7 separate regions of the Homo sapiens genome follow, and regions 1, 3, 4, 5, 6 and 7 are each linked to region 2. The links are contacts of gene promoters, found by promoter capture Hi-C in blood cells and fetal thymus (Javierre and others, 2016). All regions are on one chromosome and are shown on one strand. The core of a region is centred on a gene start or on the middle of the fragment in contact, and the rest is flanking DNA. Distances in the headings are between cores, read along the strand shown.

Region 1 (3,081 bases), core at 321-2,820, 420 kb after region 2:
AAGAAATTAAAAACAATCTCTTGACAGTTTCCAAAGCAACTATTCATCAAGATGATCTGCCTAGAGAGATAAACATACCCATATAATACTGTATTTGATCATAAGCAAGTTGTCACTGCAACTAAAATAAGTAAAAACAGTTTCAACAAATGATAGTTGCAGACAACTAAGAAGTTCTCTCTAATCATAGTTTTCACAGATCTCCCTGCTTCATTAGGAAGGAATAGCTCATAATTTGGTTCTAAATCAAAATGTCAATTTTCTGGTTCCCTTCTTGCAATACAGTATAGGGCATGAGGATTTGTGAGTCCCACAATGACCTAAGTCAAAAGACTAAAGACTTCAGTCTTTTGGTCTAGCCTAAATGAATTCAGTGTGTGGAATGATACGATAACCGGAATATTAACAAAAAGTTACTTTGCTTTCTCAAGGTAAAATTAAAATTCTAATTGAGGAATTGCACATGTACCCCAGAACTTAAAGTATAATAAAAAAAAAAAGGAAAAAAACTGGACTTCCCTGGGGAAAAATCCATTTGATGATGTGGCTTCATCGAGTATTCCTTTGTGAATTCCTGGATGAAATTTTCAAGGCAAACAGGAAAAGCACTGAAATTGCTGAATGGGTGAGCATTGTATGCCTGATTCATTAAATATATGCATTGGTAAATATATAAAAAAATTCTAATTGAATAAATAAAATTCAGTGATGGGGAACTCTAGCATGTAATTTGCCACATTGTATCATAAATGTTAAGTTTCTCTCACTAGACTCTGAAGTCCTCGAGGACAAGAACTAAGTCTTGTTTATCCTTTACAAACCTAATACTTAATATGGCAGCCAAACACTAGGGAACAATTAGGTGCTAACATTAAGTGGCAATGATGAACAAGTTCTAGAACAAGATGGTGGTGGTGATGGTCATACAATATTGTTAATGTACTTAATGCCACTAAACTATATACTTTTGCTTTAAGAGAAGGGGGTCTCGCTATGTTGCCCAGGCTGTCTTCAAACTCCTGGGCTCAAGGATCCCAGGCTCAGCCTCCTGACTAGCCGGAACTACGGGCTCCACTACACGTGGCTTGAATTATATACTTTAAAACAGTTAAAGTGATAAATTTTATTACGTGTATTTTACCACATAAAAATAATAAAAATAAAATTGTATGGCAAAGTCTATCCAAATGAAGAAAGGGGGAAAAAAGGAGAAAAATGGAATAGCAAGGGACAGGAGTATGTTTTCCAAAGACCAAAAAAAAATAAAAATTAAAAATAAAAAAATAAAAAAGGACTTATGAGTAGTTATTTCAGGAATAAGAAAAAGCACTCATCAACAAATGATTTTTAAAAAATTTAAAATAGCTATTAATCCTGAAAGTCTGTCTTAAATTAACCTCAATATTTTGTCCAATGATTTTTTTTAAATAACACCTGCTTCTTGGCATTTTAATTTCTACTACATTTAAAATTTTAAGTTAATTTAAAGGTGTTAATTGCAAAGTACTTCTAAATTACTAAATAATAAATATTCAAATACTGAGATTAGCTCAAACCTTATTATATTATAGAACACCAATGTACAGCCGAATATCAATTCTTTCACTCTACAGGTCTATACAATTTAATGATAAAAGAATAGACGAGGCACAGTGGCTCACGCCTGTAATTCTAGCACTTTGGGAGGCCGAAGTGGGAGCATTCATTGCTGGAGGCCAGGAAGTTGGACTTCAGCTTGGGCAACATAGCGAGACCTTGTCTCTACAAAAAAATTAGCTGGGTGTGGTGGCATGTGCCTGTATTCCTAGTCCTATAGTCCTAGCTACTCGGGAGGCTGAGGCTCCTGCCTCACTTCAGCCCAGGGGTTCAAGACTGCAGTGAGCTGATGAAGCCACTGCACTCAGGCCTAGGTGGCAAACCAAGAGTCTGTCAAAAAAAAAAATCCATCCTAAAAACAATAATTGTGTACTACTTTTTAAAAAGTAATTAAACCTTTAGTTTGTTTAGAGACAGAGTCTCTCTCTGCTACCCAGGCTGGAGTGCAGTGGGGCCATCATAGCTTACTGTAACCTTGAACTCCTGGGCTCAAGCAATCCTTCCACCTCAGCTAGGACAACAGGAATGTACCACCATGCCTGGATATGTTCTTGATTTTTTTTTTTTTTTTTTTTTGAGATGGAGTCTTGCTCCATCACCCAGGCTGGAGTGCAGTGGCGCGATCTCGGCTCACTGCATCCTCCACCAACTGGGTTCAAGCAACTCTCCTGCCTCAGCCTCCTGAGTAACTGGGATCACAGGCATGCGCCACCACAGCCAACTACTTTTTTTTCTTTTCTCTTTTTTTTTTTTTTTTTTTTTGGCCAGGCTTGTCTCAAACTCTTGATCTCAGGTGATCCGCCCACCTCAGCCTCACAGAGTGCTGGGATTACAGGCCTGAGCCACCGCACCCGACCTGTTTTTGATTTTTGTAGAGCGGTCTCACTCTGTTGCCCAGATGGTCTCAAACTCCTGGGCTCAAGTGATCCTCCTGCCTCTGCCTCTCAAAATTCTGGGATTACAGATATAAGCCATCAAGTCTGGCCTAGAATATTTAACTTAGGACAACTACGTGATGGTTTTTAAACAAAAAGAGAACTGCCCCCAAATGTATCACTATCAAAGATGATATAAAGCACAAACAGATTATTAGAGAACTACCAAGTAATTCTACAAAAAAGAAAATGGGCATCTTCTAGGAAAAACCATTTCAGCTCATCCCTACTGCATGAAAAATCACACAAGTTTTTCCAAACAGATAATGAGTCATTAGCAAAATCTTCTTTTAATCTTAGGCTTAAAGTTATTTTAGAAAACCCTTCTGTAGATTACAAACTACTGTCAGCAAATGCCAGGTTCCAAATAAGACACTTAACAAACTTCTAAATTTGTTAGCTAATTAACTTTTCAAATCATTCTGGATCTGTCAGATGCAATACAAATCAGGATTAATAATATAGTTTTAGAGTTTTAGTCCAAAAAAAGACCCACACATCTATGATTAATCTTCAACAAAAGTACAAAGAGAATTCAACAGAGAAATGA
Region 2 (3,149 bases), core at 439-2,938:
GATTATAATCGATGTGACAGAACTTAGAGCAGGTTTTGGAGACAAAGAACCCTAGTTTAAAAGCCTACCTCTGCTATCTACTAGCTGTGTAATCCTGGCCAACCTGGTTGACTTCTCTGGACTTCTGCTTCCCCCACTGTAAACTGGAGAAAAGAATAACCCACCTCACAGGGGTTTTGTAAAGACCAACCTAGCTAACTTATGGAAAGTGCCTAGCACAGGGGCTGGCACATCTTAAGTGCTTGAACATCTTTTTTTTTTTTTTTTTGTCCTGAGACAGGGTCTCACTCTGTCACCCAGGCTGGAGTACAGTAGCATGATCAGGGATCACTGCAGTCACAACTGCCCGGGCTCAAACGATTCTACCTCAGCCTCTCAAGTGGCCGGGATCACAGGCACACGCCACCACGTCTGGCTAATTTTTTTAATTATTTATAGAAACGAAGTCTTACTATGTTGCCCAGGCTGGTCTCAAAATTCTAGGCTCAAGTGATCCTCTTTCCTCAGCCTCCTACGGTGCTGAGATTATGGGCATGAGCCACTGCGCCCAGCGTTGAACATCTTACCCTTTCCTACTTTATTTGGCTTTCTGTTCCTTGCTGACTGTAAGCTTCTGAAGAACAAGAAACTATACTGTATTAGTTCAACACCTGTGAAATGAAGGGAAATTAGTAAGAAAAATATATATACGGTTATTAGTCACTCCTCCACAGTTTATAGTACCTGAACCATAACAGAAGTTCCATAGATGTCAATTGATTCCCAAGTTACCAGAGGAAACTAAAGCCAGCAGGAAACTGTCCTGAAGTCAAGAACCTATGGCAGGTGAACCCAGAAAACATTACGCTAAGTGAACAAACCCAGTCACAAGGGGCTACTTAATGTATGATTCCATTTATACGAAACATCCAGAATAGGCAAAAGTACAGAGACAGAAGTACATTGGTGGTTGCCTAGGGCTGGGAGAATGGGAGTAGATGGGAGGGGGGAGTGACAGCTAAAGGAGGTGTTTCTTTTGGGGGGTAATGTTCTAAAACATTATGGTGACAGCTGCACAACTCTGCAAACACACTAAAAGACACTGAATTGTGCACTTTAGATGGGTGAACTGTATGCTTCGTGAATTATATCTCAATAAAACTTTTTAAAACAATAACCACAAAAAGGATCAATCCTAGGAGCGAAAGGGTTTTGGCCACGGAGCAACTTGCTCTTACGCAGAAGCATAAATCATCACGACAAGGTTGCTCCGGCCACCGGGTGCCGCGGGCAGAGGGACGGTGGAGGGGACATTCTCCTTTTAAAAGTGGCCAGGCCCGTGAGCCTCTGAGAGGCTGGCCTCCGGGCTGCCCCGGACCTCGCGCCCCTAGCTCGCGCTGCAGGCCTTTCCTGCTCCTCCGAGGCCGCCCGGCCAGGCCTGCGTCAAGCCCGGGCGCCGCGCTCCGGTGCACTCAGCTCTCCGGTGGAAGAGCGCAGACCGCAAGGGAAAAGGTGCCGGCGCGGGTCGCCCCTAGGTCTTCAATAGATCCGAGGACACCCGAGGCCTCCACATCCCTAGCCCGCCCCCGCCACCCAGTGGCTCCGGCCGCCGCTGCCCCCGCGCCCCCGCCCTCGGCCTCGGCCTGCGCAGCGCGGCTCACCAGCCTCCAGGGGAACGCCAGCCCCGGACGCCGCCGCGGCGACGAGTGCGCCTGCGCCCCGGGGACTGAGCGGCACCGCCCCTGCCCGGCGACGGTGAGCCCAGCGCCCTCTGCCGGCCGCGCGCGGGACTCGGGGTCCTACTGGGTGCCTCTTCCTAGATCCGACCCCACCCAGTTGAAAGCTGTCCCCACTAACAGCCTTCGTTACCTGTTACCTCAAACACCCACTCTGCCTTCTGGCTGTTGCTACGCCGGATATAAGCCCTAAAGGCACTCTCTCCTCCTTATTCCTGAATATGGATTGTGCTATGAATATGGGGTGTTCAAGATCTCTGAAAGGCTTGCTGGAGGACTTTTCCTGAACCTCTCGTGTTGATGACAAGAATTGTGTTTGGATAGGAATCTGCGTTTTGAATCATTTCACCAAATTACAGTCCCATAACACCTGTCAAAAGAATAAATATGACAGTAATAAGCATGCTTCCTTTCAGACCCATCTATAATTATAATTGAGGAAAATAATACAAAATTTAAACTTAGAGCTACTGCCAGTATCATTCTTTGAAAATGAAATAATGCTGTTTATTAAATAGGCTCTCCCTGCTCTCTAATGTTTAAAGCTCAAGTGCTTCTCTGAATTGATTTAAATACAAGTTTTATATCCTGAAAGAAATCAAGATGAGTCATTATCTTAAGACAAACCCCCCTGTTCAATGATGCTGCTGATCTCTCAGCTGATGTCTAAGCGGGAGTTAGGTTGTTAGTGGATAATATTGCTTCTGTTCACGTCTCTCTTCTCCAGGGCTTTTTAAACCTGTTTGTAACGAAAAGGCTGATTTCCTTCAGACTCCATGTGTCGTTGATTTAACAGGACAACTTCTTACAGGTTTTTCTTTTTCCTTTTTCTTTTTTTTTTTTTAAGTAAAACATTGCTCCCCGGTGGCACCTGGGAATCTGTTTTTCTTCTCTTAGGATAAGAGAAGCAGGGATATTTCTTAACGGAAGTTTTGTTTTGTTCCTAACTCCCTTTAGAGCTTCCTCTTTTCTTTTTTTTTCTCTTCACCTAACATACTAGACTTCCCTCAAATCGGGGGTGGGGGATGGGAAGGTGGGGTTCCCTCCCTTGAAATATTCAGATAATTGCTTCCATTTATTTTAAAGATGTAGACTTGGACAAATATATCTGAAAGATACAATTGTACCCTCATAAATCAGCCCTCTTATTTACACATGCATAATCAAGGGCACGTCATTAATGCAGAGCCAATCAATAAATCATTAAGCTTTTAAAGCCCTTATTAAGAACAATCTGCAGTAACATCATCCACTCCTGTGCTCAGTCTTAGGATCATTTAATAATTTTAAGAAATTTCACAGTCTGTTCTGTAGTCTCATCTCCCTTTTGTTCCTAGATAGCTGTATTCCTGCATCAGAAACATGGTTCTAATACCTAGATCTCATAAAATATTGAAGATGCAAGCTGTTTGCTTTACCTCTGAAAGGCTCCAC
Region 3 (3,384 bases), core at 885-3,384, 390 kb after region 2:
GCTGGAGTGCAGTGGCATTATCTCAACTCACTGCAGCCTTGACTTTCTGAACACAAGCGATCCTCCCACCTCAGTCCCCAAGGTAGCTGGGACTATAGGCATACGCCACCATGCCCAGCTAACTTTTTTTTTTTTTTTTGTACTTTTAGTAGAGACAGGGTTTTGCCATGTTGCCCAGGCTGTTCTCAAACTCCTGAGCTCAAACGATCCACCCACCTTGGCCTCCCAAAGTGCTACGATTACAGGCGTGAGCCACCATGTCCAGCCTTCAGTATCTCTTCTTGCTATAAGTCTATACCTCTCTTCTGATCAAAAATTGCCTTTGGCTTACAAAATACAATTCCGCATTGAAGGAGCATTAAAGCCTTCCACATTCAGTGTGGCATGAGTTTTGGAGGCAGAAGGCCTAAGATCTTAATCCTGATTCTATAGTTTACTGGTTGCTTATCCTTGAACTTATTAAACTTCTCTACACAAAAGAGAAGTTTCTTACACGAAATGGGAATAACAGTAATTCTCTCAGGGGCCTATTATAAGATTTTAATGAGATATTTGTTAAGTGCTTAGCACATAGTAAACAATAAATAAGTATGAGATTTGTGCCTATTCTAATATTTCCCATTTCTGCCTTCCAGTTATAAGGGTGTGTGTGTGTGTGTGTGTGTGTGTGTGTGTGTGTGTTGAGACATGGTCTCACTCTGTCACCCAGGCTGGAGCACACTGACATGGACAGGGCTCCCTGCAGCCTCAACTTCCTGGCCTCAAGTGATCCTCCCACCTAAGCTGCCCAAGTAGCTAGGAACAAGGGTGCACACCACCACACCAGGCTAATTTTTTTTTTTTTTTTTGTAAAGACAGGGTCTCACTATTGTAGCCCAGGCTGGTCTCAAACTCCTGAGATCAAGAGATCTTCCCACCTCAGCCTCCCAGTGTGTTGGGGATTATAGGCGTGAGCCACCGCGCCCAGCCTAGTTACAGTTTTTGTTTTTGTTTTTGTTTTAAGATAGTCTTGCTCTGTCGCCCAGGCTGGAGTGCAATGGCACAATCTTGGCTCACTGCAACTTCTGCCTCCAGAGTTCAAGCCATTCTCCTGCCTCAGTCTCCCAAGTAGCTGGGATTACAGGCATGCGCCACCATGCCCAGCTAATTTTTATATTTTTAGTAGAGATGGGGTTTCGCCATGTTGCCAGGCTGGTCTCAAACTCCTGACCTCATGATCCACCTGCCTCGGCCTCCCAAAGTGTTGGGATTACAGGCGTGAGCCACCGCACCCAGCCTATAGCTTTTAAACTGTTCCTGGAGACCTAGAACTCTGCTTCAATCAAAACAACTGAGTGGGCCGGGTGTGGTGGCTCACGCCTGTAATCCCAGCACTTTGGGAGGCTGAGGCGGGTGGATCACCTGAGGTCAGGAGTTCGAGACTAGCCTGGCCAACATGATGAAACCCTGTCTCTACTAAAAAATACAAAAATTAGCTAGGCGTGGTGGCTCATGCCTATAATCCCAGCTACTGGGGAGGCTGAGGCAGAAGAATCGCTTGAACCCAGGAGGCAGAGGTTGCAGTAAGCCAAGGTCACGCCATTGCACTCCAGCCTGGGTGACAAGAGCGAAGCTCCGTCTCAAAAACAAAAACAAAAACAAAAAAAACACTGTGTGGGCTTCCCTTCTCTTTCATATACTGAAGTTCAACATTAAAAAAAAATTTTGAGGTGGTTTCTTCTGTTAAAGAATGCATGAAATCCACTATGCCATAGACACAATCTGCTCCAATTAGCTATGCCTACTCTTTGTCAACTGCAATTACTGTGTATACATCAGTATCTCCTGTCTTTGGTAATACCTATTCCTCTCTCCTCAGGACTTCTTTCCGAAGTCATCCCTAGTCACTCTTCTTTTGAACCCTTATAGCATTTTATTTTTATTATTTAGAGACAAGGTCTTGCTCTGTTGCCCAGGCTGCAGTGCAGTGGCATAATCATAGCTCACGGTAACCTTCAAATCCTAGACACAAGCAATCTTTTTACCTCAGCCCCCCAAGTAGCTAGGACCATAGGTGTGCACTACCTTGCCTGGCTAATTTTTAGATGGGGTCTCACTATGTTGCCCAGGCTCAAACTCCCAGGCTCAACTGATCCTTCTGCTTTAACCTTTTGAGTAGCTAGGACTACAGGCACATGCCACTGGAACTGCAACTTCTTTTCTGATTATTATTTTTTCTTGACTTAACTCACATTTAAGGTCTTTTAATTTATCCTTTAAATGTGATGATCTCTGTACTAGGAAACAAGTAGTCCCTTTATATACAGCATGCAAGTTCCCCATTCTCATTCCCTCTCCTCTCCTGCAATCCCTTTCATCCTCATATTTATTTTAATTTTTGTAGAGACAGGCTCTCGCTATATTGCCTAGGCTACTCTTGAACTCCTGTCCTCAAGCAATCCTCCTGCTTTGGTCCCCCACAGTGCTGGGACTGCAGGTATGAGCCACCACGTCCGGCCCTTTCCTTTTCTATTTTATCCCTAAAACCTAACCTCTTACTGTTGACAGCCAATTCTGACTAATCTTGTTTATTATCTGGGCCTCTTTTCTATTGTTTATATTTATTCCATTAAAAAGGTCAAAGACTCTATAGAGCCCATACCTTATTAAATCTGGTTTGTAAATAACTAAAATTATGCTTGCCTTTGGCAACTGAATAAAGACTCCAAGGCCCATTTAATTAGCAAAAAAACAGAGATTACAGCTATATGCTCCTTCAGCTACGCCAGCTCTCTGTATAACTCAGCCTTTCTGACAATCCATACCTTGCTTTGTGATTTGGGGGAGCTGCATGTTTGCTATCCTACCACCTACCTATTCCTATTTTCAGTATCAGCTTTTCCTGAGAAGGGAAAAGGTATGAATATTGATTTCAAAGTCAGGCTTATGTTTGAATGGCAGAGACTCAGTAGCTGTATAAACTTTCCAAAACTTTCAATTTATAAAATGAGCATACTAATATCTATTTCATTAAATGAGACAATGCAAAACATCTAGACTCTAGATCAATATTTGGCACATAATAAATATTAAGCATTATTTCCTTTTTACAAAGGAAAATATGAATTGAAAAGGAAAAGTAAGGCCAGGCCCGGTGGCTCACGCCTGTAATCCCAGCACTTTGGGAGGCCAAGGCGGGCCAATCACTTGAGGTCAGGAGTTCAAGACCAGCCTGGCAACATGGTGAAACCCTATCTCTACCAAAAATATAATAAATTAGCTGAGTGTGCTGGTGTGTGCTTGTAATCCCAGCTACTTGGGAGACTGAGCCAGGAGAATCACTTGAATCTGGGAGGCAGAGGTTGCAGTGAGCCGAGATGATGCCACAGCACTCCAGCCTGGGCA
Region 4 (3,194 bases), core at 676-3,175, 490 kb after region 2:
GGTATAACCTCGGCTCACTGCAACCTCTGCCTCCTGGGTTCAAGTGTTTCTCCTATCTCAGCCTCCTGAGTAGCTGGGATTACAAGCGCACACCACTACACCTGGCTAATTTTTGTAATTTTAGTAGAGATGGGGTTTCACCATGTTGGCCAGGCTGGTCTTGAACTCCTGACCTCAAGTGATCCTCCTGCCTCAGCCTCCCAAAGTGCTGGGATTACAGGCATGAGCCACTGCGCCCGGCCATCTGTGGAAGACATCATTTGTGGAGGTCAGTAAGGCAGGAAGCCTGAACCTCTACCAGGATGTGGCAACTCTCCCACCTGCTCAGCAGGCCTCCAAGTTCTCTCTGTTGGATCTGTCCTCTCCACCACAGCCAGAGTGAATTTTCTAAAACCCAAATATGGCCAGGCCACTCCCCTCCCTGAGAGTTTTCAGTGGCTTCTCTTTGACATCAAGATAAACTACAAATGCCTTGAGGTGCCTCAAAAGGTCCCCAGGTCCGATCTCTTTTCACACTCTCCCCTTGAATCTTCTGCCTCAGCCATGGAAGTGTGGGCAGCTCCCCAAGTGCACCAGCTCTCCAACACCTCCAACTCTTTGCATATACCTGTGCCTGAAATGCAACTGAAATGCAATCTCTCCTTCTCCTCCTGACTAATGCCCACACTATTCTCTTGCCCTAACTCCATAAGGAACCATTCAGTATATCTAATGTGTATCTTTCTATCTGTGTTCTGCTAAAATCTTTAAATCTTTATTCTTGGTCTTGTGTGCATGTATTTTTAATGTATATTAATAGTGCTGTGTCATATAGCACATTCTATTTCTTACTTTTTCCCACTCAGTGTTGGGTTTTATTGGTTTTTTTGTTTTTGTTTTTGTTTTTTGTTTTTTGGGTTTTTTGTTTGTTTGTTTGTTTTGAGACAGGGTCTTGCTCTGATGCCCAGGCTGGAGTGCAGTGGCCCAATCATGACTCGCTGTAGCCTCAACCTACTGGGCTCAAACTATCATCCTGCCTCAGCCTCTCAGGTAGCTGGGACTACAGGCCTGTGCCACCATACATGGCTAATTTTTTTGATTTTGTAGAGACAGGGTTTTGCTATGTTGCCCAGGCTATGTTGTCCAGGTTCGTGTTGCTGTGTTATCACCTGCTCAGTCACTTGGACCTCCCTGCAAATCCTACAGAGTAGGCACCTGCCCATGTTACCTGACTCTCCCCAAGCTTGATACTGATTGCCTCCAACTTCCTCACACTACAAATGACACTGCAGTGAACATCCTTGTCTAAGTGCTTTTCTCTATCTATATGACAATCTCTTTGGGAGAGGTTGCCTGTATTGTTCAGCTTCTGATTTTGCCCATCTAACAGGTGTAAAGTGGTAGCTGGTTTTCTGTTTGCTTGTTTTCTGCCAGTGAACATTTTATTCAAGGTATGTGTGTGGAGAGTGGTCAGGGACAAAGGAGAGTGGGAATGGCCTTTGAAATAAAATAAAATGATTTAGGTGAAGAAACTCTAGGAAAGGGTAATTTTCTCCATTTAGATCTTTTTTTTTTTTTTTTTTTTTTTTTTTTTGAGACGGAGTCTCGCTCTGTTGCCCAGGCTGGAGTGCAGTGGTGCCATCTTGGCTCACTGCAAGCTCCGCCTCCTGGGTTCACACCAGTTTCCTGCCTCAGCCTCCTGAGCAGCTAGGACTACAGGCACCCGCCACCACGCCCGGCTAATTTTTTGTATTTTTAGTAGGGACAGGGTTTCACCATGTTAGCCAGGATGGTCTCGAGCTCCTGACCTTGTCATCCACCCGCCTCGGCCTCCCAAAGTGCTGGGATTACAGGCGTGAGCCACCGCACCCGGCCTAGATCATTTTAAGAAAGAAAATGACAGATAAGGTTTCTGGTCTATGGAACTAACAAACAAGTAGACTATTAATATAATATCAGATATTAAATGCCCTGAAGACAATAAAATAAGGTAATGAGTTAGAAAGTGATGGGGAAAAGCCTTTAGATTGGATGATTGGAAGGAAGTAACATTTGAGCAGACATTGGAATGACGAACCATGAAGCGGATTTTGTTGAAGAACATTTCAGGTAGCGATAGCTATTGTTTTAATTTTCATTTCTCTGATTACTAATGAGTTAGAGCATCTCTTTATCTGGTTTTTCAAATTTTGGATTTCCTCTTGTCAATTGCCTGTTTATGTCCTTTGCCCATTTTCTTTTGAATTTGTTGCCTTTTTCTTCTTGATTTGAATATTTGCTGATATATTCTACATATAAACCCCTCATTGATTTTTTTCTTTTCTTTTTTTTTTTTTTCTGTCTCTCTCTCTCTTTTTTTTTTTTTTCTTTTGACACAGGGTCTCACTTTGTTGTCCAGGATGGTCTCAAGTGAGCCTCCCACCTTGGCCTCCATGTGCCAGGCATTGTGCCAAGCATTCTACAGGCATGAGCCACCTTGCCCAGCCTGGTTTTATATTTTCCCTTTTTGGTTTTAGACATCGCAATACCTCTGGCATTCTTTCTATTCCTCAAACACGTCAGCTCCTCTGCCCTCAGGCCTTCATCCTTGCTCCTCTCTCTGCCTGTTATGCTCCTCCCAGATATTTGCACACAGGGATTTCTTCACATTAAGCTTAGATGTCACCTCTTCCCACATACCCCTCCTCCAGGCACACGCCATTACATCATCCTGTTTTGCTAGCGCCAAGGCCCTATCACTACGATCTGGTTCACTCATTGTTTTCTTGTCTATGTCTTCCTCCATCGCCCTGAGGATAAGCTCTGGCCAGTCTCTGTTAAACCTCAGCCCCTAGTGCAGTGGCTGGCACAGGGGACGTCCTCAGGAAGCATCTGTTGAATGAATGAATAGATATGCCCCGGTCATGGGCCATGGAGTGAGGAAAAGGCAAGGCTAAGAGTGGTGTGCTTCAAGTGACACTTCAAATTAGGACAAGTTAATATTTGTTGAGTTTTTACCATGTGCCAGGCATTGTGCCAAGCACTCTATAAGGCTTATCTCATTAGTCCTGATAATAATCCTATGAGGCAGGTATTTCTATTTTCTATTTATGAGATAAGGAAAGCAAGGTAGAGAGATAAAGGAAGCTGCCCAAAGGTCTCCTTTATCCCAGTTAGAAAACGGGCTGAGAAGAAACCAGGACCCAGGGGATCTGCTCCTGAGCTGAGGCTCTTAG
Region 5 (3,456 bases), core at 435-2,934, 440 kb after region 2:
GTGTGCCTGAGTTCCACCGCAAGATTACTAAAAGCAGGACCAGACCAGAAACTGCTAAAGAACATGGCCTGTTTGACATGTTCATGAGTCACCTGACCCACAGCATATATGCTTATGACTAAACCCTCCACTCCTGATTCTCAAGAGTGTATCACCTGTCAGCAAAATGAATAGTGGGATATTTTGGGCCATTTTAAATGTGAAATTTTGCCTCTTTAATGTTAATTCAAAACTATATCAATGTTTTCTTGTTCCCACCTCTAACCCAAGGAAAAAAGAGAAAACATACTATGCAAAGGAAGTTTAAACTTAAGTTTTCCTTAAGGGTCAGCCCAACAATGACTTTCAGTCAAATGGATTAAACTGGAAAATGTTTTTGTTTCTGTTGTAAACAGATCATCCTAGGCGAAAGTTTTTTTTGTTTGTTTGCTTTTAAATTAGTTTATTTCTAAATCTTAGTCTTCCACATTTCTAGAGGCCACCTGACACAAGTCCCTGTATCTGAAGTCTAGCATCTCAAGGCTGATCTGGAAGTGTGCTAGTATGCTCCCTAGTGGATAACTTAATCTTTTAATACAGTTCCGTCATTCCCATCTTGTTTTCAGAAGAGAAGGTGGCTACAGCCAGGCATAACATATCCACTGTGTGCATAGAGGGTCTCTTCACGTTGATGCTTGGCATTCCATCAGCTTTCTCTAAGTCTTTGCTCAAGTTCAACCTTAAAATGATGTTAGACAACAGGTCCCAGTCAGTTCCCTCTATTTTCACCCATTTTGCTCACAAGCCATATTGGCCCGATTAGTGGTACTGTCTGACTCACGTGTGTGATCCAAATAAAGGTAGCTGCTGACCACTGCCTGGTTTGTTTTGTGGACTAGGGGATAGAGAATCCAGGGTTCTCTCATGAGGAGTTAAACATATTTCAAGAGCAACAGGAAAAAAGGTACATCAAGCCATTTGAAAACAAAAATTTATTGCTTCTCCTTCCAAAGCTTTGTGAATTTACAAAAAAAAGGATGAAAGTTTACAAACTGCTTAGTTCCAACTAAGCATAAGAGGTGAGAACGTACACTGCAGGGCCACCAGCAGCAGCTGTGCACTGATGTTAAAACTGGCTCCCCCAGACTTGTAGTGCTGTCTTCAGGGGGCTGCATTCCTTACACGCCACCTCTTGTGACATAGGTCATTGGTCAAGCCGCTGGAATGCTACAGAGGTTTTTTTGGTTTTGAGAGGCTTTTTTTTGTTTTGCCTTCCTACTATAAAAGCGAAATTTTCAGTTCATTTCTGAAAAATAAATTGGTCAATAAATTCATTTTGTTCTGCTTCTACTTTACACAAAGCTTCATATTCAACCCGATACCTGAAAAACAAAATTGTTAGAGGCCCTGAAAAAAAGATGAAGTAAACCACAGACCTAATTCTTCTAGAGAAGGATATAGAGGTTTAAATGATTTCAAGAAATGGTGTGAGTTCAGAATGAAGAAAGAAAGAGGCAAAGCCCTACCCAGAGCCACCCATGAGAAATCTCCAGCCCTAGGAAAGTCTTCTTTCAGAGAGCCAGCCAACTTCGTGGACCCTTTCATGCTCAAACTACTAGAGGTGGTTTGATATTAACAAGTTTTCTATTTCCTTCCCATCAAATGTAATTTTATTTTTTAAAATCTTCAAATCAGGATGACAAGTGAGATGCTATTCCTGGGAAAACAATGATGAAGAATAAGGACAAGAAGTGATCATTCCAGAAGGAAGAGTGGAAATTCAGCTGTGTAAAGAACTTGCTTTACATCATGACTTCTTACCTTTCTAGCTGCATTTTCTTTTCTGCTATTAGGGCTTGAAGTTGCTGCTGTTGAGCTTCTCTCTGCTTTGCTATAGATTTGAGCAAGTTCCGAGCACCGATGGCCTACAGTATTGCCAGAGAAGGCCATGGCTTCATTAAAACCATCTACAGCATCAAGTCCTCAAAGTGGGGAGGGGTTATCTGGGAGCTGTGTCAGTCTTCAGAGAGGAAAAGAAAGTGGAGCCCCAAAGCTTTTGGGTTAAGTCAGAAGGATTAACCTACTGATCACAAAGTGCCTCAAGAACTAGACGGCAGCTTTGAGGCAGGTCTAGGAGTATTCCTAGAGCCAGGGACACAGGCACAATAGCACATTTGGTGGTGCCATTCAGCCTTGTGCCTTTCACCAATCATACTATGTAAGCCTTCATTTCTTCATTTATAAAATGAGGATAAGACCATCTACATCAGTGCTGATATGAAGATGAAACGAGGCCAGGTGTGGTGGCTCACACCTGCAATCCCAGCACTTTGGGAGGCCAAGGTAGGCAGTTCACTTGAGGCCAGGAGTTTGCAACCAGCCTGGCCAACATGGTGAAACCCCATCTTTACTAAAAATACAAAAAAATGGCCGGGCGCAGTCACTCACGCCTTAATCCCAGCACTTTGGGAGGCTGAGGCGGGCGGATCACCTAAGGTTGGGAGTTTGAGACCAGCCTGACCAACATGGAGAAACCCTGTCTCTACTAAAAATACAAAATTAGCCAGGCATGGTGGCACATGCCTGTAATCCCAGCTACTCGGGAGGCTGAGGCAGGAGAATCGCTTGAACCCAGGAGGCGGAGGTTGCAGTGAGCCAAGATCGCACCATTGCACTCCAGCCTGGGCAACGAGAGAAAACTCCGTCTCAAAAAAAAAAAAAAAAATACAAAAACCTCAGCTGGGTGTGGTGGCACACACCTGTAGTCCCACCTACTCGGGAGGGTGAGGTGGGAGAATCGCTTGAATCTGAGAGGCAGAGCTTGCAGTGAGCCGAGATTGCACCAGTGCACTCCAGCCTGGGTGACACAGCAAGACTCTGTCTCAAAAAAAAAAAAAAAATAAAGATTAAAGGAAATAAAGATTGGCAAAAGTTCAGTAGGTTAAGTGGACCAGAAGTTATTAAAATCTTAAATAAAAATTCACCCACCCAGCCCTCTACCCCTCTAAATAAATCAAGAGGGAAGAGGGATGAGAGGGTAGTGAACTAGGGTCCCAGGCCAAGATGTAGGCGGAAGACATGCTGATCTTACCTTCATCTTTTCATTTTCTGCTTCTTTTGCAAGTTGATCAACAAGCTCAATTAAACCACCAACTATTTTCTGAAACTGGCCAATTTCTTTTAGGAAAAGAACAAAAAATAAAATATTTCCTTAGTATCATCACTCCCCTTCGGTAGAGTGCTAAGGCAGTGAGAGGGCAGAGCGGACTGCCCCTTCTAATTTGTGTTAAAATAGTTCGGTGTGGGCCAGGCGTGGTGGAGAGCAACTGTAGTCCCAGCTACTCAGGGGGCTGAGGTGGGAGGATCACTTGAACCCAGGAGTTAGAGGATGTGTGATCATGCCTGTGAACTGCCACTGCATTCCAGCCTGGGGAACATAGCAAGACCCTGTCGCTTAAACACTTTGGTGCCTGTTGG
Region 6 (2,965 bases), core at 425-2,924, 460 kb after region 2:
AGAGCATGGAAGACCATGGTATGGAGCCATCATCTGACCGTGTGGATACCTCTTAAAAGAAGGGGGCCATGTTGAGAAAATCAAATTGCCACCTCAGTCCCCAGGGCCCAGAGTACTCTTGTCTTCTTATATCCCAGGGACTGTCTGTGATCACTTAATGGGGCTGAACCTTTTCTGTTTTAATGTATTCTAGGGATGATGTGAGATTGAGGGAAAGACTCCAGCTGAACATCAAGAAATCAAGAAGACTTGTCCCCCAAATGCCCTCTGGGATACTCATAATGAAAATTAGGAATGGCTTAGGAAAGCATTCTGAGGAGGCCTAAAGGGACTCTCTGACTTAGACTATCCCTGGCACTCAGCACTTTTGTCTCCATGGGTCTTAGTCCCAGAGAAGTACTCTGGGGATGTTTCCAAGGCCTAGGAGGACGCTGTCTTCACCCCTAGTACCCCAATTACATATGTCTGCCATCTCCTCCTGAGGATACTGTGAGGCACAACCACAGGGAAACTTACTTTTCTGGAGCTGCAGAAGCCACATCCCGGTCATACAGTCTGGCCTGCCAGGGAAACAGGACGACACCTCGGTAGCCAAAAATGCTATGAAGGAAAAGCTGGAAGGAAAGAGGGGCCTCAGTGAGTCTGCAGTCCAGCAAATCCATCCAGGTGGGCCCCAGACCACAAAGCAACACAGGTGGAGGCAACTCCAGCACAAGGTCTTGCTACCTCTTCCCTTGAAGTCTGTGATCAACCAGACCAATGCTGGAACACTCTTATTTCTTCTTTACCTGGCTGACTCTACTCATCCTTTAGGTAAAAGCTTAGGCCTCCAGGAAGCCTTCCCTGACCTCCCTTCCACTTAGCACAATGTACAGCTATTGGCCATTTGCAAATCGTTCTTTTCTAGACTAGAAACTCCACAATAGCAGGAATCATGTCTACTTTGCTTTCTGATTTAACCCTAATGCACAATGCCTAGTCCATTGTAGGCACACAGAAAAATAAAATGTTGAACAAACAAAAAGTCTTCCTTACCTACAATATCCTAGAAGGGCCTAAATCTATCCCAGTGGACCCAGAACAAAGCTGATATAGAAAAAGAACCACACATCCAGAGTTTACCACACTGAAGTCAATTTTATTACGGCAAAGCATCAAAGGTATACTTTTCTGAAAGCTCCCTCCACGGCTTCCCACCATCCACTATGTTAGAGAAATCTTCAGCAACTTGGCTAAACCTCACTATAGTCCACACCATCCCTGTCCACATTAACTTGGAAAGAGAACCCACTGACACATTAAGTGCATTCAAATCCAGGAGAACAGAAACCCTATCTATAAAAATTTGATTCTGGGCTGGGTGCGGTGGCTCACGCCAGTAATCCCAGGACTTTGGGAGGCCAAGGCAGGTGGATCACCTGAGGTCGGGAGCTCGAGACCAGCCTGACCAACATGGAGAAACCGCATCTCCACTAAAAGTACAAAATTAGCCAAGTGTGGTGGCGCATGCTTGTAATCCCAGCTACTAGGGAGGCTGAGGTAGGAGAACTGCTTAAACCCAGGAGGTGGAGCTTGCAGTGAGCCGAGACCATGCCATTGCACTCCAGCCTGGGCAACAAGACTGAAACTCCGTCTCACAAAAAATAAATAAATAAAATAAATAAATAAAATAAAAAATGAATACAAATTTGATTCTGGAATGGCACCAAACATCAAGGTGGAATGAATGGAACACCATACCATGCAGGCCTGTGACCTAATCTGACTTTTTTCAGAAGCAGAGCACTCTATGAAAATGAAAGATGACCCAGCCCAATACTCACCTGCCCGGTCTCATATTTTCCATTCTGTTTTGGCACCTCAAACACACCAACTGTCTCCAACACTTTGCCCTCTGGTCGGTTTCTGAGTAGGAAGGAAAAGAACAAGCAACAGAAAAGCTGAGAAGGTAATGGTAGTTATCCATAAGAAAAAGCTCCTAGGATACTGAGGGGCCAGGGCGATGACAGCAGAGAAGGGTTTGGGGTAGTGGGACCAGCTGGAGCAGGAAAGGCTTTCCTCCTCCTTGGTGAAAACCTCCACAGTCTCCCAGTGTTAGATGTGACCGCTCCCATACTACTGTCTTCTCTCTTCACTGGGCATTCTTCATATCATGCCCTCACACTCTGCTCAAATGTACCCCTGCCCTTGTTTCTTCCCTAACCCACCCTCCTGACCTCCCACAGCACTTTAACTGTCTTGCTCACTTTTTCAATTTTTTTAGAAGGGGAGTATCTTTTTTTCTTCTTTTCTTACATTTTCTATATCACAAGTCATCAAACAATATCCTGCTCCCTTTACATTTCAGTTGTGTCCATGTCTTATCTTTATTAAATACTGTAAATTCCCTGGGAGCAATGCCTGAGTCTGATTAGCTGGTACTGCCCCCTCAGAGCCTAGTGTACAAGAGGTGCTCAAAAAATATTTGTCCTGTATTATAATTCCATGTCCATCTCCCCCTCTAACCTGTAGCCCTTACATTGCCCTTGAAAAGCTTAAACATCTCTAGATTTCCTACGGCACATCGCTCTCTCAATACCGTTTTTGTTCATATTCTCACAGGGGTCTTAAATTGCAAATAGCTATCATCTCTCCCCAATGTTCAGTGTCTAATATCAGCCACTAAAATGTCAGTCACCACTCTGAACAGGGCTGCTCTTTCTAGGGGCCCTTCAAATAAAGGCTGTTTTTACTGTTTTGAAGATGTGAACTTTATGCTTCCTCCCACTGATCCACCAGCCCATTTGATCCGCCTGTCCCATCCGTGGAAACAGTTTCCACACCATCCCCATGGCCTCAAACCCCCTTCCCCAAGTCACAGATAGAAAATCGATCTCCCCAAAGTCACTTGGAAACCTGGGGCCTACGAGGGTCCACACCCAAGAGTCTCGTTTCCCACCTCTAGCATCTTTCTGAGGCAGACCTT
Region 7 (3,428 bases), core at 547-3,046, 440 kb before region 2:
CGGTCTTTTTATAAGTTGAGTGAGGACTGGATCAATGACTCTCAATGGGAAAGGCCAGGGGTTAGGGAGGAACCTCCTTGCATTTGGAAAATCTCGAGGAGGGGTTAATTTGCAAAAACAAGTTTTAAAGTTATAGTTTTGCTTCCTAGACCTGATTTTTAAAAATTTATTATTTTTTTTAGAGACAGGGTCTTGTCACATTGCCCAGGCTGGTCTCGAACTCCTGGCTTTAAGTGATCCTTCCCCCTTGGCCTCTCAAAAGTGCTGGCATTACAGGCATGAGCCACGGTGCCCAGCCCTTAATTTATTTCGAAGGCTGGTGTAATATAAACATTAAAGGAAGGTGTAATACAAACTGCCATCCATTATTGATTGTTTTAGTGTCTACAAGGTTTGGATCCCACCTCCTGTCCAATTCTCATCCTCAAACACAAAAACAAAACCAAAAAAACAACTGTCTATCTACACACACACACACACCCTCGGCTGGCCTGAGAGGTAAAAGAAACATCCCATAGGACCTGCTGAAAGAGCTCCTGAGGCACGCTGGAGCCTTTCTTGTGTGCCATGCACTGTATCTGGCACTATAAAGAGGGTACAATAGCTAGTGGCTTCTGCAATCAAGCAGCTTACAAGAGAAAATTGAGAGGGGAGACATTTTTTCTGGTTGACAGATGTCGAAAGCATGAAGGTGTGGGAGCTTTGATCAGAGACTTGGTTTTTCAGTTTTGCCAGATAATAGAACGCATGGGGTGAACTAATGGGAGAGGAGGGTGAACAGATGGGCAAGGCTTGATTGCTGGGTTAGGAGGCACAGAAATGCACAGAGGACAAAGGACTACCAGTCCTTGGCAGTACTGTACTGCTCCATGGCCACTACCTGGGTCCAGGGCCACATTCAGATCTGAGGTTAGATAGTAAGAATTGCTAACATTTATCCAGCGACCACATGTGCCAGTAATCAATCTAGGTGCTGTACATGTATTAACTGATTCTTCATAGGAACCCTATTAAAGAGTTATTTGATGAGGAGAGTCGGGCATTCACTGGAAATCGAACGTGCCCAAAGTCTCACCCTAGACCGTGGTGGAGTCAGAATTTGAATCCTGGCCACTTGCTCCGAAGCCACCGACAATTCAGTGTGCTGTCCCCCGTGTCTGGGCTGGCTTGGTGGGCTGGGAATGGCGGGGGAATGGGACACTTATTTTGGCAGGTAAATGTGGTTCAGAAGAAAGCTCTTCGTCTTTCTCCAAGCCTGAGCAATCGTTTTGGCGCAGGCAGTCCAGAGTAGAGCGCTTTGTGAGCCAGCTACAGAAGTGCTGTAAGCCCCTTCCCACTAGATGGCAGCCCCTAAACCCACATACAAATCCTGGAACCTCCCTGGTCCCCATCTTCCAGGGCTGGGCTGCAGCTGAGGAACTGCGGGACGCACACCCGCCGGGCGTCCAGGGGGCGCCGCCCCATCCGGGGGTCGCGGGAAGCTCCTAGGCCGGGTGGGGGACGGAGGCGGACGGGGAGACGCTGCTCCCCCGACTCTCGGCGCCTGGGGGAGGAGCTGGCGCGGAGCAGCTCCACCCGGGGCTCCCGGTTGGGGCCGGCCCTCACCGCCTGCCTCGCCGCGGCCGCCGGGAGGGGAGGGGAGAGGAGGGCAGGGAGGGCGGCGCGGGCGCGGTCCGGGGCCCCGAGGGCGGAGGCCGGCGGCAGGTGCGCGGCGTGGACTACAAGTCCCAGCATGCCCGGCCGCCCTGACCCAGCCCCCGCCGCCGCTTAAAGGCTCCGGGAGCCGCAGCCGTCGGGTCGCCGCGGCTTTCGCTTTGCTGCCGCGGCTGGGAGGGTGGAAGCGGCAGACTCAGCGGCCGGCTCTACCGGCGTCCCGGCTCGGGCAGCGCCGAGGGGCGCTCCTGGTCCAGCTCTCCTGGCTCGGGGGTTCCTTGCCGAGGCGCCCGCGCCCCGGGCTCCCAGCCTCGGCCGCCGCGGCCCCGATGCCGAGGCATGGATAGAGCAGCGCTGCGCGCGGCGGCGATGGGAGAGAAGAAGGAGGGCGGTGGCGGGGGGGATGCGGCGGCCGCGGAGGGAGGCGCAGGGGCCGCGGCCAGCCGGGCGCTGCAGCAGTGCGGGCAGCTCCAGAAGCTCATCGACATCTCCATCGGCAGCCTGCGCGGGCTGCGCACCAAGTGCGCTGTGTCCAACGACCTCACCCAGCAGGAGATACGGACCCTGGAGGTAAGTGGGTCGGGGACCAGGCTGGGCTCGAGGAGCGGGCCCGGACACCTCCCTCCGGGCCCCAGTACTCCTGGCCGAGTTGCATCCTTGAGCCCGCGTCGCCCCCCTTGGAGGCTTCCCCTCCCTCCTGCACTCGCTGATGCGGCAGCCGGAGGACCCGGGACCAGCCCTCATCTTGGGCAGGATTTGTGGGGCGGGTGCGTCGTGGGAACTGGGATGGAGGCTCGAGGGGCCCGTGCGGGGTGGGCTGCGCGCGGACATCCCCTTTCCCCCCTTCTCCGCCCCCACCCCATTTCCAGTTTGCGGGGCCGCAGGACTCGTTGTCCCACCGAGTCACAAGCTGGACTTTTCCCCGTGTGACTGAGCCGAGCACCCGTGGGCCAGGGTGACGGAGGAGGTTCCCCTGAAGCGTGATCGCAGGCCTGCCGTCCCCTGTTCCCCTCACGCCCCAGACGCCGTCCTGTCCCTTCCTTTCCTCTCCTCTCAGGTCTTGTCTGCCGCCTTTTCAAAAAGTGTTGCTGAAACTGCATTTTTGTTATTCAGGCGTTTGGTGCTTTCCTTTCACGTTGCCACGGAGGCTCGCTGCTTAAAATGTATTAATAATTACCCGCTGACTCCCCCTGCTTCCCCCCAAAGATTGGATTTAGGCTTAGGAAGGATTATGCTGGGAAGCAAGCCTTTGGTGGGAAGATGAAACTGTTTAAAGGGTTCTGATGGAGACAGTCTGGAGTGTAAAGAAGAAATAAGATATGCGGGCCTTCCTCTCTCAAATTATAGCTGGGGAAGTATCTGAAGGATTTGGAAAAACCAGCCCGAGGGTTGTTGGGGCACCCTGTCCATACACAAATGAGGGCAACTAGTGGATTCTGAATGTGATTTTGGCCAGGGACGGGGCGGTGAAACGTCAGACCAGTTAATAGCTGCCCCGTCTTGAAGAAGGAACCTCTCACCATCTTGCCCTGCCACATCTGGCCTCCTGCAGGTCTGGGGATGTTTTGTTTTATTAGATCCTCAATTTCTCCTCCCCCAAACCCTCCCCCCGCCCCTTATTGCTAATTGCCTCTGCCAGCTGTCATAAGGCCCTCTGTGATCGCGGTAATTATTACAAGACCAATCCTTCCTCCAGGCATGCCACAAAGCCGAATCCTTGTTTGATTCCAAATGCTCGGGGGTGACTCTCCCTCAGTTTTATTTTCTTAAAAGCT

The links. The method cuts DNA at HindIII sites, captures the fragments that hold promoters and counts their contacts. A CHiCAGO score of 5 or more calls a contact.
Region 1: a contact is called between a fragment that was not itself captured here and the fragment with the promoter of LYRM9 in region 2, in 5 of 17 cell types (erythroblasts, M1 macrophages, M0 macrophages and 2 more). The highest score is 12.1, in erythroblasts.
Region 3: a contact is called between a fragment that was not itself captured here and the fragment with the promoter of LYRM9 in region 2, in 6 of 17 cell types (M2 macrophages, erythroblasts, M1 macrophages and 3 more). The highest score is 9.3, in M2 macrophages.
Region 4: a contact is called between a fragment that was not itself captured here and the fragment with the promoter of LYRM9 in region 2, in 1 of 17 cell types (erythroblasts). The highest score is 5.0, in erythroblasts.
Region 5: a contact is called between a fragment that was not itself captured here and the fragment with the promoter of LYRM9 in region 2, in 4 of 17 cell types (erythroblasts, endothelial precursors, M0 macrophages and 1 more). The highest score is 7.8, in erythroblasts.
Region 6: a contact is called between a fragment that was not itself captured here and the fragment with the promoter of LYRM9 in region 2, in 2 of 17 cell types (erythroblasts and naive B cells). The highest score is 7.6, in erythroblasts.
Region 7: a contact is called between the fragment with the promoter of KSR1 here and the fragment with the promoter of LYRM9 in region 2, in 3 of 17 cell types (monocytes, M1 macrophages and M0 macrophages). The highest score is 7.7, in monocytes.

What each region holds. Positions count from the first base shown.
Region 1 is chr17:28,307,799-28,310,879 of GRCh38, forward strand. No RefSeq gene overlaps it. Among named protein-coding and RNA genes, the nearest start is that of TMEM97, 9.9 kb to the right of the region's middle. The HindIII fragment of the contact is 3,560 bases long and covers 1-3,081 here.
Region 2 is chr17:27,891,677-27,894,825 of GRCh38, forward strand. LYRM9 (LYR motif containing 9) reads right to left here and starts at 1,689. Exons shown (of 4, transcript NM_001076680.3): 1 at 1,641-1,689. RefSeq lists a silencer at 1,321-1,870. The HindIII fragment of the contact is 2,313 bases long and covers 609-2,921 here.
Region 3 is chr17:28,284,102-28,287,485 of GRCh38, forward strand. It overlaps the pseudogene KRT18P55. Among named protein-coding and RNA genes, the nearest start is that of TMEM97, 33 kb to the right of the region's middle. The HindIII fragment of the contact is 9,556 bases long and covers 1-3,384 here.
Region 4 is chr17:28,377,756-28,380,949 of GRCh38, forward strand. The region is part of intron 1 of SARM1 (sterile alpha and TIR motif containing 1); the gene reads left to right. Among named protein-coding and RNA genes, the nearest start is that of SARM1, 7.7 kb to the left of the region's middle. RefSeq lists a silencer at 2,301-2,501. The HindIII fragment of the contact is 1,410 bases long and covers 1,221-2,630 here.
Region 5 is chr17:28,327,373-28,330,828 of GRCh38, forward strand. It overlaps TMEM97 (transmembrane protein 97), which reads left to right. Exons shown (of 3, transcript NM_014573.3): 3 at 1-1,313. IFT20 (intraflagellar transport 20) reads right to left here. Exons shown (of 5, transcript NM_001267776.2): 3 at 3,071-3,156; 4 at 1,801-1,904; 5 at 954-1,361. The coding sequence ends at 1,280. Among named protein-coding and RNA genes, the nearest start is that of IFT20, 6.4 kb to the right of the region's middle. The HindIII fragment of the contact is 691 bases long and covers 1,340-2,030 here.
Region 6 is chr17:28,353,972-28,356,936 of GRCh38, forward strand. It overlaps POLDIP2 (DNA polymerase delta interacting protein 2), which reads right to left. Exons shown (of 11, transcript NM_015584.5): 2 at 1,824-1,905; 3 at 517-614. Among named protein-coding and RNA genes, the nearest start is that of POLDIP2, 2.1 kb to the right of the region's middle. RefSeq lists an enhancer at 2,956-2,965. The HindIII fragment of the contact is 1,713 bases long and covers 819-2,531 here.
Region 7 is chr17:27,454,652-27,458,079 of GRCh38, forward strand. It overlaps KSR1 (kinase suppressor of ras 1), which reads left to right and starts at 1,797. Exons shown (of 21, transcript NM_001394583.1): 1 at 1,797-2,223. The coding sequence starts at 1,993. RefSeq lists silencers at 1,327-2,086, 2,607-2,656 and an enhancer at 1,462-1,963. The HindIII fragment of the contact is 16,082 bases long and covers 1-3,428 here.